Regions from separate parts of the Homo sapiens genome. Here all the other regions are linked to region 4. The links are contacts of gene promoters, found by promoter capture Hi-C in blood cells and fetal thymus (Javierre and others, 2016). All regions are on one chromosome and are shown on one strand. Each heading gives the region's core, a stretch centred on a gene start or on the middle of the fragment in contact. The rest is flanking DNA. Distances are from core to core; before and after follow the strand shown.

Evidence for each region. The method cuts DNA at HindIII sites, captures the fragments that hold promoters and counts their contacts. A CHiCAGO score of 5 or more calls a contact.
Region 1: a contact is called between a fragment that was not itself captured here and the fragment with the promoter of TIPRL in region 4, in 4 of 17 cell types (total CD8 T cells, naive CD8 T cells, activated CD4 T cells and 1 more). The highest score is 9.3, in total CD8 T cells.
Region 2: a contact is called between a fragment that was not itself captured here and the fragment with the promoter of TIPRL in region 4, in 3 of 17 cell types (total CD8 T cells, neutrophils and non-activated CD4 T cells). The highest score is 7.2, in total CD8 T cells.
Region 3: the fragment with the promoter of SLC19A2 here is called in contact with the fragment with the promoter of TIPRL in region 4 in 2 of 17 cell types (total CD8 T cells and naive CD8 T cells); the score reaches 5.4 in total CD8 T cells.
Region 5: a contact is called between a fragment that was not itself captured here and the fragment with the promoter of TIPRL in region 4, in 1 of 17 cell types (activated CD4 T cells). The highest score is 6.5, in activated CD4 T cells.
Region 6: a contact is called between a fragment that was not itself captured here and the fragment with the promoter of TIPRL in region 4, in 1 of 17 cell types (naive B cells). The highest score is 5.0, in naive B cells.

The regions. Positions count from the first base shown.
Region 1 is chr1:169,359,480-169,362,918 of GRCh38, forward strand. The region is part of intron 1 of NME7 (NME/NM23 family member 7); the gene reads right to left. Among named protein-coding and RNA genes, the nearest start is that of NME7, 6.6 kb to the right of the region's middle. The HindIII fragment of the contact is 1,185 bases long and covers 846-2,030 here.
Region 2 is chr1:169,375,212-169,378,692 of GRCh38, forward strand. It overlaps BLZF1 (basic leucine zipper nuclear factor 1), which reads left to right. Exons shown (of 7, transcript NM_001320973.2): 3 at 1,329-1,768; 4 at 3,119-3,318. Among named protein-coding and RNA genes, the nearest start is that of BLZF1, 8.8 kb to the left of the region's middle. The HindIII fragment of the contact is 3,684 bases long and covers 37-3,481 here.
Region 3 is chr1:169,484,041-169,487,344 of GRCh38, forward strand. It overlaps SLC19A2 (solute carrier family 19 member 2), which reads right to left and starts at 1,904. Exons shown (of 6, transcript NM_006996.3): 1 at 1,523-1,904. The coding sequence starts at 1,726. RefSeq lists enhancers at 1,309-1,368, 1,911-2,205, 2,009-2,258, 2,041-2,961, 2,269-2,338 and a silencer at 1,549-1,728. The HindIII fragment of the contact is 10,248 bases long and covers 1-3,304 here.
Region 4 is chr1:168,177,357-168,180,641 of GRCh38, forward strand. TIPRL (TOR signaling pathway regulator) reads left to right here and starts at 1,606. Exons shown (of 7, transcript NM_152902.5): 1 at 1,606-1,825. The coding sequence starts at 1,722. RefSeq lists enhancers at 1,229-1,730, 1,718-1,837. The HindIII fragment of the contact is 4,299 bases long and covers 657-3,285 here.
Region 5 is chr1:169,898,136-169,901,271 of GRCh38, forward strand. No RefSeq gene overlaps it. Among named protein-coding and RNA genes, the nearest start is that of SCYL3, 5.8 kb to the left of the region's middle. The HindIII fragment of the contact is 5,358 bases long and covers 1-3,136 here.
Region 6 is chr1:166,866,988-166,870,160 of GRCh38, forward strand. TADA1 (transcriptional adaptor 1) reads right to left here. Exons shown (of 8, transcript NM_053053.4): 2 at 2,776-2,867; 3 at 2,458-2,523. It also overlaps the pseudogene DUTP6. Among named protein-coding and RNA genes, the nearest start is that of TADA1, 7.7 kb to the right of the region's middle. The HindIII fragment of the contact is 801 bases long and covers 1,365-2,165 here.

The sequences.
Region 1 (3,439 bases), core at 188-2,687, 1.2 Mb after region 4:
ATATATGTATGAGTATATATGTGACCAGGATATTACACAAAAATATTAATAGCGATTGTATACAGGCAGTGTTATTATAGATAAATGTAATTTTATTACTTTTACTTTTATATTTTCTCATTTCTAAAAATGACTAAGTAATTTTCCTATATTTCTACAACAGAATAAGTTAAATATCTTTATAAACATATATAAAACATATATAGCATATATATGTATCATGTAAATATTGAAACTATGGAAAACAAAGGATAAAAGTTGAATTTACATCTATCAGAGAGCTCTAGAGCCATTATGTGTGCATATGAAGATACATTTTAAAGAGTATAGAAATATGAAGAAGGCACAGCACATAAGATGAGTCAGGAGAGAGAACAACAGCAACTTATTAAGGCAAAGTGTCCAGTATCAGAAAATAAATGTGAATTAAGCAGTACATTTTAATAGCTACAGTTTCTCACATCTAATTAACAGAAAGTTTTAAATATTGACAACTTTGGAAGTGAAGAAGTTTAGGCAGTTTTTGAAAAAAATGTGAATACAAAGTTCATTGGGAATGCTGGAGATACTTCTGGAAAGTAAGATACTTCAATCATATGCTATAGCAGCATCAAGAAAGGTACTAGGTGAAGATCACAGCAGCAAACATAACTCCCATGTTGAAACTATAATGCATACCCATCTGGAATATGTAGCTCTGCTCGCCACACCTTAGAGTAGATATTATAGAAACAAAAAATAAGTCCAGAAATGGGAAAATAAATTATGAAATGGCAACTATAAGGGATGAAATTAGGAGTCTCTGAAGTTCAAAGACAAAAGAAGCTCAGAAAAATATTTCCCAAAGCTTATAAGATCATAAATTTTACAGATAAGATAAAAATAAGCACCAAGAGACCAAATTAATATGGCAAAAGTTTAAGGCAAATCCAAGGAAAATAAAATATTTTGATGGAATAGGTAAAATATATAAGATGTATAATACTACTGCATTTAGAATAAAATCCAAAATCCCTCCCAAGTTCCATAAGTCTCAGTATTCCTGGCTCCTTCCTGCCTCTCAGATCTCTTCTCCTCCAGCTGTCCTCTCATTCCCTAGGCCCCAGCCACACTATCTCCCTCCTGTTCCTCTAATGCACCTCTGTGCTCACTATTGACTCTGCCTGGAATGCTCTTCTCCTAGGTTTCACCTGGCAAGCTGCTTTCTATCATTGACATCTCAGCTTAAAAGTCACATCCTCATGAGGACCGTCCCTGATTGTCCTACTCAAGGCTACTTGCTCTTGGAACCAACCAATATTGCATTACTTAGTTTAATTTTCCTCATAGTACTTATCATCATATGAGGTCATCATTCGTTTATTTATTCATGTAAACTGTTTTTCTCTCAAACTAAGGAAAAAAACAATTAAAGAGTTTTATCATCAAAGAGACTTTCCCTCACCACCCCAGGCTAGTTCAGATCACTCTATTTTATTACTAACTTCCACCTCACCTTGTCATTTTTCTTTTGTAATCCAACTTATACTTGTAATTTATTTTCCAATATCTGTTTTTCTCCATAAATTCCATGAGTTAGGGGCCACTGTGTGCTATCTTATTAATCAATGTATACCCACCAGTTACCAGTATATGGAAAGTACTCAATAAATACTTTCTCGAATAGAAGAATAACTGGTGAATGAGAAAGAATTGGGAATAAAAAGGCAGAAAAAGGAAAGCAAAAATAAATAAAAAGCTACATGAAAAAAATTATGGCATTATATTAACCACTTACTATTCCGTTCTCCAAATACCACTGTTTCCTACTAAACAAGAATATAACAGGCTCTAAACTGCATTTGTAATACAATATATAGGAAAATAAACTTTTAAGAGTTTCATATCTGCAATTTATGCCCTGTGCTTTCTGATTCACTTTTTGTAAATAAAATCCTGTGGATCTTTGGAACTGCAATTCTTCCAAATCAGCAATTCAAGTAACAAAAGGAATTCTGGATGACTAAAAAGCAGATGCTGTCTGGGTGCCAAGCTTCATGCCTATAATCCCAGCAGTTTGGAAGGCCGAGGCAGGCGGATGACCTGAGATCAGGAGTTTGAGACTAGCCTGGCCAAAATGGCGAAACCCCGTCTCTACTAAAAATACAAAAGTTAGCCAGGCGTGGTGGCATGCGCCAGTAGTCCCAGCTACTCGGGAGGCTGGGGCACAAGAATTGCTTGAACCCAGGAGGCAGAGGTTGCAGTGAGTGGAAATCGCGCCACTGCACTCCACAGCCGGGTCGACAGAACAAAACTCTGTCTAAAAAAAAAAAAAGGCAGGTGCTAAAAACAAAACCAGAAAAGCTATTAGGAGAAACGTCATAAAGTTGGAAACTGAAAAGCATTTCATTTCATGGAATAAAATTTTGTTCTTCAGTAATTATGAAACTGTCTTTGAAAACTCTGTTAAAAACAACTTTGACTCATGCCTGTAATCCCAGCACTTGGGGAAGCCGAGGCAAGTGGATCACTTGAGGTCAGGAGCTCGAGACCAGCCTGGCCAACATGGTGAAACCCTGTCTCCACTAAAAACACAAAAATTAGCCAGGCATGGTGGCACATGCCTGTAATCCAAGTTACTCACAAGGTGGAGGCAGGAGAATCGCTTGAACCCAGGAGGCAGAGGTTGCAGTGACCCGAGATCACACCACTGCACTCCAGCCAGGGTGATAGAGTGAGACTGTGTCTCAAAAATAAATAAATACATAAACAAACAAACAACTTTGAGACATTTTACTTCAAAGGTTTAGATTAGTTCTTATGGAACATAGCTAATAATCTTTAAAGTCCTTTATTACACTAACAGTTCATCTGGAGTAATGATATTCTAATAAATGCTATATTTTAGAAGATACATAATATTAATATCTTTGTCAAATATATCTTAGAATTACCTTCTCTGTCCTCTTTATAATATGTAAAAGAAATTGATGAGTCCAGCATACGCTTCATCTTAAATGAGGTGTATGAGAAACATGCTAAACTATGGTTCCCTATCTCTGCTTCACAATATAAAGGTGATTCCAGAATTTGGAAGCCTCAACTATAACAAACTAGATGAAGACAGAAGCTGATTAGATAAACTGCAGTGGTCAGGAAGCCTCACCAACAGAGCAAACAACCTCCATCTTCAGCTGCTTATTGAGAGGCCATAATCCTTTGCTGCAATACATACAACAGTGGCTAGACTGAACACAGAGAAGGGACATCTGTTTCTTAGGCCTGTTCTTTCTCATAAATGATTGATGGCAAATATGGAGGAGAGTGATCTGGATGCACAAAGAAACTTGAAAATTTTACTCTAGCCAATTTTAGGCTTTCGTTAATTCAAAGCTGTATCTGCCATACAACAAGAACATTTTCACTAGATCAAAAGAGGAATAAGAATATCTGCAGGCCT
Region 2 (3,481 bases), core at 629-3,128, 1.2 Mb after region 4:
GGAATATATTCTAGCCATAAAATAAAAAATATGTTAAGCTTACGAAATTTATTACTGTTACAAGTATAAAAGGAATTCTGTTTTAAGTCTTTGTTTTAGGAGATTACATTACACACACACATATATATATAAAACATATATATAAAAAACATATATACATATAAAACATATATATATAAAACATATATATATATATATATATATATATATATATATATATGGTCTGGCTGGACAGTGATGAATTCACTGAAGACCAATCAGTAGTTCATGATTGTCCTTAATGTTTCTATAGACATAAAATTTCTATTGAAATATTTTTATACCACTTACCTGCACACTTATTATATATTATCCTGTAATACATTTTATCTTTTTATATGTATGTTCTGTCCCCTAAATTAGGTAGTAAATTTCTTAAGCATAGTGGTCTTACCTCATAGAATGTCTAGCCTTCATTAGGTACCCAGCATCATGTTTGCTGCCCGTGACCACTCAGAGTTCATCATTATAACCATTGTTACTGATCTGTGTGCTCGTCTTTTGTCCCTCCCCTTGTTATCATTCATTTATTGTTTATAACATATATACATATATATATATATACACACACACTACATGCAAGGCATTTTATTGGGAATACAGTGCACTCAAAATAAATTGAAAGCCACTAGAGGGAATGAGAGAACAATAAAAGAATTTGGGTATGATATGGTGAAAGTGAGGTATAAGGATGTTTAATCTGACAATCCAGTGTAGTTTCACTTGTGTAAGCAGGACATAAACTGTTAGGCCTAAGAATAGGATTGAATCTTTTCTTAATAAATTTTTCGGTGTAACATATATGTTGCTTCCTCTTACTCCAAGAGTTCACAAAACAGATGAATCTCTTATGATGTAGATGGTTTCAAATATGCATCTATATAGCTGACATTTATTTTAACTAACATTATTGAGTGTCTACAGTATGCCAAGCATTTCATCTTATTACATTTTTTCTTACCAAAATTCTATAGCAAAGTTGTTATGATCTCCGTTTTGCAAATTAGGAAATAGAGATTCATGGAAGATTAAATTATTTACCCAGGGTTATACTAGAAAGTAAAAGTCAGAACCAAATATTCTGATTCCAAATCTCTTGTCTACTGAAGGAAAGTTTAAACATGTATCTTTTGTTGACACATGATTGTTTTGAAAATTACTTTTTCTCTGATTTTTTTTTTGCATTCTTTTTAGTGCCAGTAATTTTGAATATAGGGTATAGCATGTATTAGCATTTTCTTGGCATTTCTTCTTGGTAAGTAGTTTCTGTTTTGTTTCCTTTTTGTTAGTCACCGTTACTTCATCCCCAATCCGAGGAGCAGGAGATGGAATGGAAACTGAGGAACCACCTAAATCTGTTGAAGTTACCTCCGGAGTCCAATCTAGAAAGCATCATAGTCTTCAGAGTCCATGGAAGAAAGCAGTTCCATCAGAGAGCCCAGGAGTTCTTCAGCTAGGGAAAATGCTCACTGAAAAAGCAATGGAAGTTAAAGCTGTAAGAATATTAGTTCCCAAAGCTGCTATAACTCATGATATCCCCAACAAAAATACAAAGGTTAAGTCTCTGGGACATCATAAAGGAGAATTCCTTGGTCAGTCAGAGGGAGTTATAGAACCTAATAAGGAACTCTCAGAGGTAAAGAATGTATTGGAAAAGCTCAAGAATTCTGAAAGAAGGTTACTACAGGACAAAGAAGGTCTTTCAAACCAGCTCCGTGTACAGACAGAGGTAAGAAGAGCCTTAATCGATAAAATGAGTACTACTCTTTACGTCTGGACCTTTTAAACGTGCATGTTAGAAAACTACATTTCTTTATGGGAATGTCATTCATCCTAGCTTGTCAGTTCTCTAAAATGCTTCCTCTTAAATTTCTCATTCTTTCTCAGTTCTCTAGGGATACTTTATATTGGGAACTTATACTCTAAACCTCATTGAAGATGGAGGTGTGAGGTGCTTTGGACAAGACCACCAATAAGTTGTAAAAGTAGGTTACAATTATAAACTGCCAGACCAAAGATTGACCAAGTCAGGCATAGTAATTGACCAGCAGTCCTTGTTTTAAGGATCCGTAAATTCCAAGTAGTTTTGCTTGTGTATACGGGATACTTGGAATAAAGAGAATGGCGATATAACTTACTGTGTCTTCATTGTAAATGAAAAAAATCTGTAGCCCTTAAGTGTGTTGCTTTAATCTTTGCATCTTAGTAAAAATTGCCTTGCCCCTTCCCTTGTTTCTCTATTAGACCATGCATCTTTTGGCTAGATACAAGTCTTCATAAGTGAGACCATGGTTAGTGTTTTTATACAAATATATTTTTAAATAACTAATTTCTCATTACAAAATGTAGTACAAATTTATGTGTAAAAATTTTAGAAAATACAGAAAAACACAATGAAAATAGTGCCACCTGAATCATTTCATCCAGCTATACGTGCATAACCATATACATTGAGTTCATTTAGTGTCACAACCCACTTTTTTCAGTTATTAATGTTCTGCCATGTCACAGAATATTCTATTACAGTGTCATTGTTAATAGTAACAGTGTTCTTCAATAGCTATACCATATACCAATAACTGTTATTGGATATCTTTTAATTTTTTGCTCTTTTCAGTAATGATGTAAAGAACATACTTAGAAACATACTGGATTACTTTGCTTTATTTTTTAAAAGTAAATTCTTAGGATGCAATACACTAACTTATAAATGTTTAATAAAAAACATAAAACATTCTCTGTCATATTTTTTATCAAAATATATTGGTTTTGTTTTAATTTTTTTTCCTTTAAGTGTTGACTAGAAGCAATTTGTTATTTTCATAATTCTTTTTACTCTTACTACAAGAGGCTCAGTTTATTACCACATGGACTGTGGATATAGATGTATGGAGAGAAGTAGAGAGAGATGGTTTGTATATCGTATGGAACTTAAATATTTAATTTTACTTTTTGATAGAAACTTCAAGTCACGGAGGTCCAAAATTACACAGAAACACAGTCTCTTTTTGTTAATTTTGTTACATTAAAGTTAGTGATATTACTTTGAGCTTGTTGTATTGATTACGTTCTCTTCTAGGTAAATCGTGAGTTAAAAAAGTTACTGGTGGCTTCTGTTGGGGATGATCTTCAGTATCACTTTGAACGTCTAGCCCGTGAGAAAAATCAGCTTATTTTAGAAAATGAAGCCCTAGGTCGAAACACAGCTCAGCTTTCTGAACAGTTAGAACGTATGTCAATACAGTGTGATGTATGGCGAAGTAAATTCCTTGCAAGCAGGTATTTTCTACAGCAAATAGTATTTCACTTCCTAGTTTTTGCTCCATCAGGTTTTTGATCTATAACACAAGAAAGTAGATTGTAGTGTGAAAATTTCTGACTAAGGTCATCAGAGTACTTCATTTAAGATGTGGACTCTCTCTCCTCTGGATAGTCACACAGT
Region 3 (3,304 bases), core at 654-3,153, 1.3 Mb after region 4:
TTATGTAATGATCCACAAGACTGAGAAACGGCCCAGCCACTCCATCCCACAACTGGCAGGTCAATAGGGTAATTTAAGGCCAGGCAAAAAGTCAGTGATACTTGCTAGAAGTGAACAAATGTCAGACTCTCAAGTGAAACCCTCAATACGTAAGTCAATACTGATTCTTAATTCTCTCTCAAGTGCCCTTGAAAATGACGGAGCATTGCAACAAACAAACTGCAAACAACAAACTATGAGTAACTATATCTCGCCAGTGTGCAAATGATTCCGGTAGTGCCATCTCTTGTTCTGACCTGTTATGCAGGGTTACTGAGTGGCTACTCAAAAGAAGTGACTGACTACTACCCACATAGAGAAGAGTAAGGTTTAAATGGGAGGAGTATTTTACAGCACCTGGGGCAAGGAGGCAGGGTGGAAGGAACAGGTGTAGGAAAAAAGAAAAAGCTCTCAAGTGGCCCCTTGACTGATAGTAGGAAAAAGAACATGAGACCTCAGCTTTCACCCTTTGTTGTATTCAAGGAAGAGGGTGTTGAATCGGCTTTATTTCGGTTTTGTGGAAGTACTTTGGGTTTAATTTCTTTCTCAGTTTATATATTGTCTTTCTTCTGCAAAAATCAAGTGCTGGTTTTGACCATGCACTTAAATAGGTCAGCACATTTCTAAAGTACACTATGCGCTTCTGAAGTACTTTATTTGTAAGCCCTCATCTAGGGAAAAAATCAATCAGCAAGAAACTCTTGATGATGGACTACGTGCTCTCAATTACCCTGAACATCACAGAAGGCCTTCAAAGACATCACCTTGTATCTGAGAAGCAAAACTAACATCTGTGAAGCAACAATTCGCAATACAAGAAACACTATAATTAAAAGTCAATTATGTTTCACCATCTGCCTTTATCCCTGGAGGTTGGTCTTAAGGTAGAGAGGGGCAGGATATCCTTGGACACAACCTCACCCAATTAAAAATCAAGACAAATTAAGATGTTCTGTACTTCTGTCCTGTCCTTACTTGATTAAGCCCACCCATTCTGCCAAATGCAAACAAAGTAAGGTATGGACAGGAAGCAGGTGAAGGAGGTAGAGGGAAGATCCTTTCAGAAAAGCAGTGGTTGCCTACTTTCAGTCAATGAATATTTACTAAGCCGTGTCCAAAGTACACTTTGCTGTTTTCACTTCTTTGTCAAAATATTGCCCCCTCGCCCCCAGCAGGAACTGCTGGACCAGTCTGGGCAGTCACGCTAAGCCACATTACAACACGATCAGCATACTGCCTGACGCACAAGGCACGGGGCCTCTGGACGCGTGTTCTGAGCCCTTCGCAGGAGACTCGTCCTACAGAGCCGAAGAAAACAGAAAATCATGAACACAAAGAAGAGCACGAAGCCGACCTCCAACTGGCAAAATCAGAAATCTCTGCCGAGAATGGCTCGAGCGCTTTTCTCGGTCCTCTCTTCCTCCGCTGCCCACCCGCAGGCCGGTCGCCCGCCCTTCCCGCGCCCCGCGTCCGCCGCGCGTACCTCCCTCTCGGTCAGGTTCTTGTCCGGCCCCAGCAGGTACGGGGTCAGGAAGGGCTCGGACGGCCTGAGGCTGGCGAAGAAGCCGTAGGCGCAGAGCAGCGCGGTCGGCAAGAACCAGCATTCGCGACGGACCCGAGCGGTCCGCAGGAGCACAGTGGCCGCCGCCGCCGCCGCCCGCCGAGACACCGGGCCGGGCACATCCATCCGGGGCGCGAGGGGAGGGGACCCGGCCCGGCCCCTTCCTTCTCCTCCTCCGCCAACTGGAGTGAGGGTCAGGCACTTGTAACCGCGAGTGACGCCTTCTCCCTGTAAGGCCAGGACGTTCTGGACTCGCCGCCGCCTCCGGCTACAGAACCCCCAGCTTTACCCTACAGACGCCTCTAGGGTCGCTGCCTGATCGCCCAGTTTAAGGGAGACCCGTCCTAAGGCCCACCCTCTGCCACCGCCTCCACTCCGGGAACCAATCACAGCGGACGCCGGGAATACTTGCCTGCTCTTCCATTGGTCGTGGGTCACACGACGTGAACTGGGGCGGTGGCAGCACGCCAGGCCTCTGACGTCCCAGGGCTCAAGCGCGGAGGACATGTGGAACTCCACTCCAAAAGCGGCGGCTTGCGGCGGAGCTCTCTCTAGTGAGGCGGCCAGCTGGCGTTCGTGGCACACTTGCTGTCGGCTCCGCTCATCTGTTGGGAATGCGTCCTGTGGGCCTAGTCCTCCGCTGGAAGAAACGCGCTGTTCTCCCCAACCACCGTTTATCATTCTTATTCACCGTCTCCGGAATGTCCATTCAGTTTCCGCTCCTGAGAGACTTAGTGACTGAGGCCAGGCAAAGATTTCACCTTGGGGAGGGGGAACGTTAAACCTTTCCTCCAGCAGCTTTCGTGTTTTAAATTGTATTCATCCGCCATGGAAAGACATCAGAAGCCCAGGATCTAAGAGACAGACTGAAATGAAGAAAGTAGATAATATTGTGAGAATAATGAACAAGCTGGTCACTGAACAGCAGAACCGTAATGGAGTCCCAGTTAAAGGGTTTTAACTTTATTTCGTCACTTTTTGCAAGCATGATACAAAGAAAACAAACACCTAACTACGCTACGGTTTATAGTTAAAAGGAAGGTGGAAGATCCTGAGTCATTACAGCAATCACAAAACATGATGGATTTCTTCATTTAAAAACACAAAAGAGGTCTTGGCATAGTTTTCAAGGGCAAAGCATGACAAGACTCTCCAGTGCTTTCTTTCATCCCCCTCTGTGTGCCTTTTTCTGCCTGACTCACAGCCTGGCTCAATCCTAATCTTTCTACTGCAAAGATGCAGCATTTAAAGCAATTTTTCCTGTGCAGTATTTGTAGAATGACAGATCCTGCCAGAAGCTCTTGGAAACATTTTGGAACTATCTTGCTTTTCTGTATGTTATGATCCATCTAGCACCGTTTTCCTCCTGTGGTAGCAAATGACACTTTTTTCAAGCATCAGCAGCAGAAATGAGTCTACCAGATGGAATAAGATACTGGTAAAGGGAAAGATTTGTTTCTAAGACTGCACAAATGAATGCACCCAAATCTGTGAGTTGATTAATCTGTGAAGAAATACAACTGGCAGTATTTACATATCTCAATGAGTCTCAAAGTGTGGTCGAGGAAGCCCTGGGGGTCCTTGGGACCCTTTCAGAGGTTCCACGAGCTCAAATCTATTTTCATAACCATGCTAAGTCTTTATTTCCTTTTCCACTCCAGAGGCTATATAATGTCTGATGACATCATCGCTTTATAGGATGAG
Region 4 (3,285 bases), core at 356-2,855:
TTCTTAAGCATTCCTTTCTACTGACTTCAAGTCTTTAGACAAAGCTTAACACTGTTTTTTGTTTGTTTGTTTGTTTGTTTTTGAGACAAGGTCTTACTCTGTCACCCAGGCTGGAGTGCAGTGGCACGATCTCGGCTCACTGCAACCTCTGCCTCTCAGGTTCAAGTGATTCTCCCACCTCAGCCTCCCTAGTAGCTGGGGTTACAGGCATCCACCACCGTGCTTGGCTAAGTTTTGTATTTTTAGTAGACACAGGTTTTCACAATATTGGCCAGGCTGGTCTTGAACTCCCGACCTCAGGTGGTCCACCCACCTTGGCCTCCCAAAGTGCTGGGATTACAGTCTTGAGCCACTGCACCTGGCCTGTGTTTTTATTTGTTTTTGAGACAGGGTCTCGCTCACCCAGGCATGAGTGCTGTGGCATGATCATGGCTCAATGCAGCCTCTGAGGCTCAAGAGATCCTCCCACCACAGCCTCTCAAGTGGCCTGGGACTACAGGCAGATACCATCATACACAGCTAATTAACACGGTTTGTAGAGATGAGGGCTTACTCTGGTGCCCACGCTGGTCTCAAATTCCTGGACTCAAGCAATCCTCTCACCTAGGCCTCCCAAGATGCTGGGATTATAGGCAGGAGCCACCTCGCCTGACTAAAGCTTAAATCTTTCAACAGATTGCCGATCAGAAAATCTTTGAATCCACCTATGATCTGTAAGCCTCTCCTTCAAGACATCCCACTTCCTTAGCCTGAACCAATGTATATCTTCCATATATTGACTTATTTTACCTGCAATTCCCAACTCCCTAAAATGTATAAAACAAAGAGTAATGCCACCGCTTCAGATGCTCTTTGTTAGGACCTCTTGGGACTATTCCCTGGGCCATGGTCACTCATATTGGTTCAGAATAAATCTCTTTAAAACCTTTTACAGAATTTGTTTTTTTTCCATTAACAAAATCATCTCATTTTGAGGCAACTGAAGCCTAAAATCGTTAGAGAAGCGCTTTGCCCAAGGATTCACACAATAGTGTTGCAAATGGAGATTTAGCACTAAGTCAGCTGTGTTGTTTTCACTATACTGGGTGCCTACATAGCAACTAGACCATGGAAAGTCTTCGCATATCTACGAGGATGCAATTTTTGATAGGAGTTGGTCATAGTCAAGAGTGGCTAGATGGCCACTTCTAAATCTTGTTGGTGCTGGATTTCCTAAACTCTGTGGGATTACTTCTTTTTTTGACCTCAAAACAGAAAAATTTCCTCTGTAACACGATTCACTAACACATGAGGTAATCACACTGCTTTGAGGTCTGTAAGGATCAAGTTGGAACCGTCATCCCCTTCCCTGGCAGTCCCTAAAATCCTTCGAGATGACGTCACCCAACGAGTTCAAGAGGGCGGTGCGTTCCTAACCACACCTTCTGCAACCCAAGTGCCGCCCCTCTGACTTTCTCCTTTTTCCTTTTTTCCGGAACGCCGGAACGTAAGACGTGGGTCACGCAACAAGAGCAACTAGTCCCGGAAGCAAAAAGCAAAGAGGCGGAGAAGAAGACGGGAAGCAGAGCCCGCGTCCGGGTCGGCCGGCAGGGGGCGGGGCCGGGCATGGTAACGGCTCGGAAGCCTAGGAGGCTGGGCCGGAGGGAGGCGGAGGAACCGGTGTTCGCCGCCGCCGCTGCTTCAGCTTATTCCTTGTGGCCTCTGCGGGTCCTGCCTCAGCCATGATGATCCACGGCTTCCAGAGCAGCCACCGGGATTTCTGCTTCGGGCCCTGGAAGCTGACGGCGTCCAAGACCCACATCATGAAGTCGGCGGATGTGGAGAAGTGAGGCTTCGGGGCACGGGGTCTGGGCGCTGGCCGGTTGCTGGCCCAGGGCGGGAGGCAGGGCGAACTCTGTGCAGCCCCTCCCCTTTTCCCTGAGGCGGAGGTTCGGTCCCTCCGGACCGGACCTTTGATTGACAACTTCGATAAATAATCCAGTCACACTTCCGGGCCCTTTGGTTGGGGATCGCCAGGCGCTGCTTTCGTCAACTGTCAATCCGCCTGGGTTTGAGTAGAGTGTGACTGTTCTGGTGGACTTTCCCCTCACCAAACGTCTCCTCCTGCCTCAGCCTGCACCACCTTTCTTTCTGGGTGGCTGTTGCCTGTTTTCTTAGGGGTTAATGACGGGGATGATTTATAAGTTTGGTTTCTGTCACGTCAGGTGCTGTGCCCGGCGCTTGAGATAGGAAATGTAAAAGACAACGTGCGCCTCAATTCACAGTCTCGTGAGAGAGACAGACAATTATATTACAGCGTGAATAAATGTAATGAAGATGTATACACGGAGTGATGTGAGGTCTTTTAGGGGCTCGAACCATCTGGGAAATTGGGATGCCTGAACTGAATCTTTATAAAACCGTTGCGGGGGGCGGTGGATAGGTACATGCCATCAGGTCAGGCAGAGTGAGTTGTGATGCGTTTTTGATGCCTGGGCTGAATCTTGACAAAATTTAGGGGAATCAGGGGACGCATGTAAAGCTGGGGGCTCAGGGAGAGTGAAAGCTGTGATGTGTTTAAAGAGCTGTGTCCGTGTGATTGGAGCGTGAGGTACCATAGGGGGTGTTGTGAGAGATGAGAGGTAGGCCCCAGGGGAATCAAGATACTGAGGGAATTTTTATGCCTGGCTAAGGAGTTTTCAATTTTATCTGACAACCACTGGGTGTAATTTTATCCAAAGGAGCTGCATTATCAGATGTACGCTCTGAAAGATTTCTCTGGAGGCCATGTTGAGGCTGGATTGCAGGTCCGCAGGGATGGGAAGGAGACCAGTTAGTAAGAGAAAAGATAGGTTTTAGAAGATTAAGTCCCTGGGATGGCCAGCTGATGGGAGGAGAAATAAAAAAGGAAGAGTCTATGCTGATGACAAGATCTCTGGCTTGGATTTTTGCATGTATCGTATGCCTTTGAACAAGATGAGAAGCACAGGAGGAGGAGAAGCAGATGGGGGCAGGGTGTTGGTTAGAGGATGAGTTTAGTTTATTGAAATGTGAGGTGGGTATAGGTCATAAAGTGAAGATGTGTAGTAGGCATTTAGATATATTTATCTTGGAGCTCAAAAAAGATAACGTCTGTGGGTTTAAGTTTGGGAATTATCTGCTTATATTTGGTACCTGGAGCTTTGGGAATGAATTAAGGTATCTAGAAGTCATCCAGAGGAAAAGGTCATAAAATAGAACCCTAAGTGAGTACTTGCATTTTAAGATTTGAGCAGAGGGAGTGACCAGGGAAGAGAGGAAAGTAAT
Region 5 (3,136 bases), core at 19-2,518, 1.7 Mb after region 4:
AAAACAGGGCTTCCTTCCTTCATTTCTTTCTTTCCTGCCATATTTCTAGCACATAACACAGTGCCTAGAACATACTAGGTACTCAGTAAATATTAAACACACAAATGAATTTACTGAGAGCACACTGCATGTCCCAGGCACCCTCCCTACATCTCTCTGCCTCCCAGCCCTTACCCCACAGAGCCCTCTATAGCTCTGGTTCCAGTTCTCAGTTCCCTGGAGCTGCTCTCTGAGCTCCTTCTGCCTTTCTTATGCATAGAAATCTTGTATTCCCTCACTGATTCCTCAGTCCTCATTTTAAATATGTCTAAGGCCAGGAAAGAAAAGAATCTCCAACAACCTGAATCCGCTGTCCTTGGAATGTGGCTGGTGGGACAGTTAGAAACAAATAGTTTGTTTTCTTAATAGAAATAATTTTTTCTTGTCATACTGTTTAAGGATCAACCTGAATTTTACTTCCAACCAATCCTCTTCTTAATTCAAATCAAAACATGTCAATGGTATTCAGCTTGACTTTTAGGTGTTTTTTTAATTAATCTTTTTCATGTTTCTAACTTAGATTCCCAAGTAGACTATAAGTATCTTGGATATATTCCTGGTTCTATAAAAGCCTTAGCCATCCAACTTAATTATTTTTTTCCAACTTGATTTGAACTAACTTTTTTACAAGCTCTACCTGAAAACCAAAGAGAGTAAAAGTTATTCAAGTGATTTCTATTTAATGTTCTACCTCAATAATTTGTGTAATTGCATAATTGCAATTAGAATCTGGAAGTGTAAAGGGGGAAACTTGCATGAATGACAAACCCTCCTTCAGGCACATTTCAGATAAATACATATAGCATCCATAAGTAGTGGATACCTTATAGAAAACTGAACTGGACCTAAGCCACTTTGTTCTCTCGTTGTTTTTAGGAACTTTGCATAGATATTGGAAGATTTCTCTAATGAGAAGTATGTGTTTTCTAAGTTCCACCATAACCTTGCTACCACTACAAAGAGAGAATGAAAGCAAGTCTGAGGTGGGATTCTACACATTCACACGTTTATTAGCAAGGTTTAAAGACAGGCAGTAGAGCTGTTATACAAACTCAGTGAGGTTCCACTTCCTTGTGTAGGAGCTTGAATAGCATCTTGCATGAAAGGTCCATCCACTGCAGGAAGATGGGACAGTATTCTAATAGCAGACTCAGCTATCCTCATTAGAGCTGGGTGACAAAATCTTCTTGTAATCTTCTCCATATGGGGCTGGTCTGAAATCCTAAATCTAGGGCACCTTTCCAAAGTGTGTAGATTGCTAGACTCACTAGATTCTCATACTCTGATCATGTAAGGCATGGCAACATTTCTATTCATTCTGTCCATCTTGAAATTACTTATTTTGGCCATGAAAATTCACTTTTAAACATCCTTAAAGCCACTAGTATTGATCTGAGTTAGAGATAGCTGAAGTGTTTGTAGTATCTGCCCCAGGAGTATAGACTTCTCATTGAAATCTTTCAGATGCTAAAAGCCTCTGAAGTGTGAATTGCTTCTCAACTTCAAAGAGCCATGAATCATCTTGGAATCATACTCCTGGGAGAAAGATTTGGGGCAAACAATGTGTGCATTATATATCTACCTCTTCTTTGAAATACTTCAGCCTTCAGGGAGATACAGATGTGTACTAACTTAGATCTATCCTGTAGGGGTGGTTAATTAATATTTGAAGGCAACATGAGCATCCTCTGGAAGCATGTTAAAAATGCAAAAGCTGAGGCCTCACGCTAGATTGTCGAGTCAGAATCTACATTTTAACAGGATCTTTAGGTGATTTGCAGGCACCTTCCTTGCAGGAAGGTTTGAGAACTGCCCTAAATGATCTAAGGCCTCCCTCCTTTGGCCTCACTGCTATCCTCCTGCTCACTAACTCTGGTCCATGCTCAGTGGCCTCCTTGCTGTCCTGTCAGCATGCCAGGTGAGCTCTTGCCTTAGGACTTTTGCTCTAGCGCTTCCTTTTCCTGTCATTCTCTTTTCCCACATGTCCATTTGACTAAGTCTGTTACTTCTATTTTTTGTTCAGATCTCGTCTTCTCAATGAAGTCTGTCCTGATCCACCCTATCTAATTCTACAACGTTTACCTTCCTTCCTGCTACACTCCTGGTGCTTCCTATCCTGTTTTCTTTTGCTTTTTCCCTCCATAGCACTGACCGTCTTATAAACAGCCATATACTGTATTTTCTAGATTGTAAAAACTATAGTTTTTCACATTTTAACATCCCTGAAGGTCAGAATGCATTTTACCACAAATGGCATAATATAATTTGTCAATAATTTTTTCTTAGTGGTACCAAATATATTGATGCTTCCTAAATGTGATGGCATCATATATTTGATGAAATATGACAATTTGCTTATGTATTATGGCTTTTGGTTTTGAGAGAAAACAATTATCTGAAACTTTAAAATAGGCAAAAGAGGTTACTGTGGCTTTCTTCCCATGCAATTCTGGATTAAATTCCTATTGACTAGGTTATTTTACTACTTCTTTATTACCTTTTTAGGGGCAGAGGCTAACTTTTTCATTTTCATCCACTAGAGATGTAAATAAGTTTGTCCAGCACAGCAAATCATCTTAATGGTTACAGTTTATTGTCCTGTAAGTTATTAACCCAGCAACCTGAACCTGACATGTCTTTATCAAATTGCCTACATATACACCTATCTTCTCAGCTGCTATTTGGACTAGTTTAAAATCTTACTGATTCCCTCATTAATAAAAACATTAAATAGAGTCTTTGACATGTGTTCATTTTATATTTGCCTGAGAAACCTCATTGTACTTTTTTAAAAAAATTACATTTTAATGGTTTATTTCTCCCCTGCTAGAATGTTAAGTTTCACAAGGGAAAAAAATCTGTTTTTGTTCAATGATCTGCCATAAATGCTTAGAACAATGCTTGGAACATTATAGATGCTCAACAATTATTTACTGATGAATGAATGAATGGAAGTATAGAAAAATATATACTAGTCTGTTAACATTCACCATGTAAGGTAGGGAGAGGTTACTTTCTTTATATACCTTTTTATATATCTGCATATTGTTTTATGTGTTACAGTGAGCCTACATTGTTTTTGTTTATTTGTTTAAGA
Region 6 (3,173 bases), core at 515-3,014, 1.3 Mb before region 4:
ACCCACCTTGGCCTCCCAAAGCGCTGGGATTACAGACATGAGCCACTGTGTCTGGCTGGCATTTTTTATTTTTAAAATCACTTTTTTATAAGTTCTTTCATCTGTTTTTTCATAATCCTACGGGGTAGATATTGCTGTACTTATTTTATAAATTTGAAAGCCCAAGTAACTATATTATGTAAGCTAGTGGCAAAACCTACACTTGAACCTAAGTCTCTTGACTCTTATCAACCAGGGTTTTTACTTCTGATCACTCCATTTATCTTTGGCATATGTGGCAATTTACAATATGCTTCCCTAAAAAGTAAGATTCACAATATTGGCTTTTCTGATCAAATTAAATTTTATGTAACAAAATAGATTATGATTTAACTTTGGACATAAAAGAGGAATGGCTAAAGTCTACTTGTATATAAATTAAATAGCACATCAAAAATCTGACACAGTGTAAGAATGTGCGGTGATGAGTGTGGTGAGGGGAGGGAGGCAGTCACTGCTCTCTAAAACAACCCCACAAGCAGGTGCTCACAGTTTACTACACATTAACAACGACTTCTTTGAGGGTCAAAGAACGAGGTGTTAGGAGATCTTATGTGAATTTTTTTTTTTTTTTTTTAAACACAGTTTCACTCTGTCGCCCAGGCTGAAGTGCCGTGGCACAATGTAACCTCTACCTCCCAGGTTCAAGCGATTCTCATGCCTCAGCCTCCTGAGTAGCTGGGACTACAGATGTGCGCCACCACGCCCGGCTAATTTTCTTTTTTGTATTATTAGTAGAGTAGGGGTTTCACCATGTTGGCCGGGCTGGTCTCGAACTCCTGACCTCAAGTGACCCGCCCGCCTCAGCCTCCCAAAGTGCTGGGAATACAGGCGTGAGCCACCACGCCCTGGCTTGAGTTCTTTATCATACAGTAGAAGTAAACAGAGAGAGAGGATTAAAAAATACCAGCCATTTATAGATAAAACATGAGCTTTCGATATATGATCATCAGAATCACCCTAAGCCCTTAAAAAAATTTCAATTTAATCTACAACAGGAGTTGGTAAGCACAATTGTAATGGTAACTTTTGTAGTCTTATGAATAGATATAAATTGCAATTTAGAAATATAAAAACTACTGAATAAATCATTTGGCCTAATTTTTTTTAAAAAGTCCAGTATGACTTTTATCATGAGGAAAGTTTTCAATGTATTTAATTACTTGTTTTTGACTGATTAAAATAAGATGGTTGAGAGAGGTGACTTACAGCTTAATCTTCTCTTCAGGTTAAAGTGACAGGTTTCGTTTCCACCTACCCCCTCAACATGCTACTATCCCCTACCTCTTGTTATCTACCAATAATCTGTGAAACACAGGTGCTGAAGCTTGACCTTTCAGGTGCTATCTTACCTAAGAACATAGTGGAAGTCCAGGTTCCCAACATATGCTGGGTTCCCCCACCTCCCCACTACGGACACCTTTCAAGTTAGGTATCCCTTAGGTACAGGACACCTAACACCAACTGCCCTCTCTTCATCTCCCTTACCTTCTTCATCCTGATCTCCCACCCTCTTCCTCACTTCTCATTTACTTAAGTAATCTAAAATGTAGCTGAGTGGGGACTCAATATCAAAAGGTAATATAAGTACAGGGACATAACCTGCTTTACAAGGCTCCGTAGATTTGGGCAGTCCCTGCTGTGGTGCTCACCCTGCGCCCTCTTGTTCCCGGGCTATCTCCTTGCTTGCCTTCTGGCTCTCTCAAGCCCTATTCTGAGGGACACCACTATTTCCCCCATTGAGCAAACTGGCCTGCGGGGGAGGGTGGCACACAGAGCAGCCTTGCCCAGCTCTCCCAGCATAACACGCCCGGACCAAGGGGTCCACGGGGGCTAGGACTTGGACATGCCTAGGATTACACAATACCACCTAGGGAGAAAGCACTTGTGAAAACAAACATTCAGACAGTCCTTCCTTCTGGGTGTTAGAAAAGAGTAGTGCCACATCTGGCTTGGCTGAAAAACACTTTACTGATGTAGGAGCTGGCATCATAAGATGAAGATTATAGAGGAAGTGTTGGTGTTGTACAATTCAATTTTGGCAAAGAAAAGTTTGGTGTCAAAAATGGTGATCAAATTGCATAGCTCATTTGTGAACAGACTTTTTCTCCAGAAACAGAAATTCAAGCTTTGGATGACACTGAAAGGGGTTCAGGAGGTTTGGGTTCCACTGGAAAGAATTAAAATGTATGCCAAGAACTGAAAATGAGAAATCATACCTTTTTCTTAAAAATAAAGAGTTTCTGCTTTAAAAAAAAAAAAAGATTCTGTAAAAGAATTTGTATCTACCTAATAAAACTTTTCTTCTGAGTAGTTCAAAAACATCTGCTTTACAAACACTAGCTGTGTCTATTAGAGAAAGCTAAAGTCTAGTGCTTTGCTGACTTACACACACTGGAAGTATTTCCACTCCCTTACCTGGTGTAGAAACCAAAATCTGACAACGCGTGAGAATGGCCAGGAGGAAATCATTGTGAGAATGGACTGAAAAAGGAAAGATAGTGACAATCAAATTCAAAACATTTTCAACATAAGGAAACCACAACTTTGGTCTAGCTTCTCAAGATTTTGGATATCCCCTATTCTGCCATGCTTTATACTTAAAGTATCCACATTATTAAGATAACCTTATACACCACAAAACCAAAATTTTACTTTTTAAAAAGGGAAAAGACTTTACTACAAATCTAGGAAAACTACAGAATAGTAAAATAACTCTGCAGATAATTATTTTACCATTATCCTGTGTGAGAAGTCTATGAGCTTCAAGGTCAAACTCCTCTTTGCTGATCTTCTGCTTGAACCACAGCTTTAGGTTAGCCCAGTATCTGCAGAGGCAGAAACAATACTAAGAACCACAGATTTGGCTGCTTCTAGTTTTTTTTGTTTGTTTTGTTTTTTTAAAGAGACGGGGTTTTTTATTCTGTCACTCAGGCTGGAGTGCAGGGGAACAATCAGAGCTCTGAACTTCTGGCTTTAAGCTACCCTCCCACCTCAGCCCCCTGAGTAGCTGGGACTACAGCATGAACACATTTTGCTTCTTCCCCAAGTTCAGCATACATGCTCCAACTCCGAGGAAAGGAAATTTTGCATTCCCTGGCTCTATGGGCTGAATTGTGTCCCCCCACAAAAGT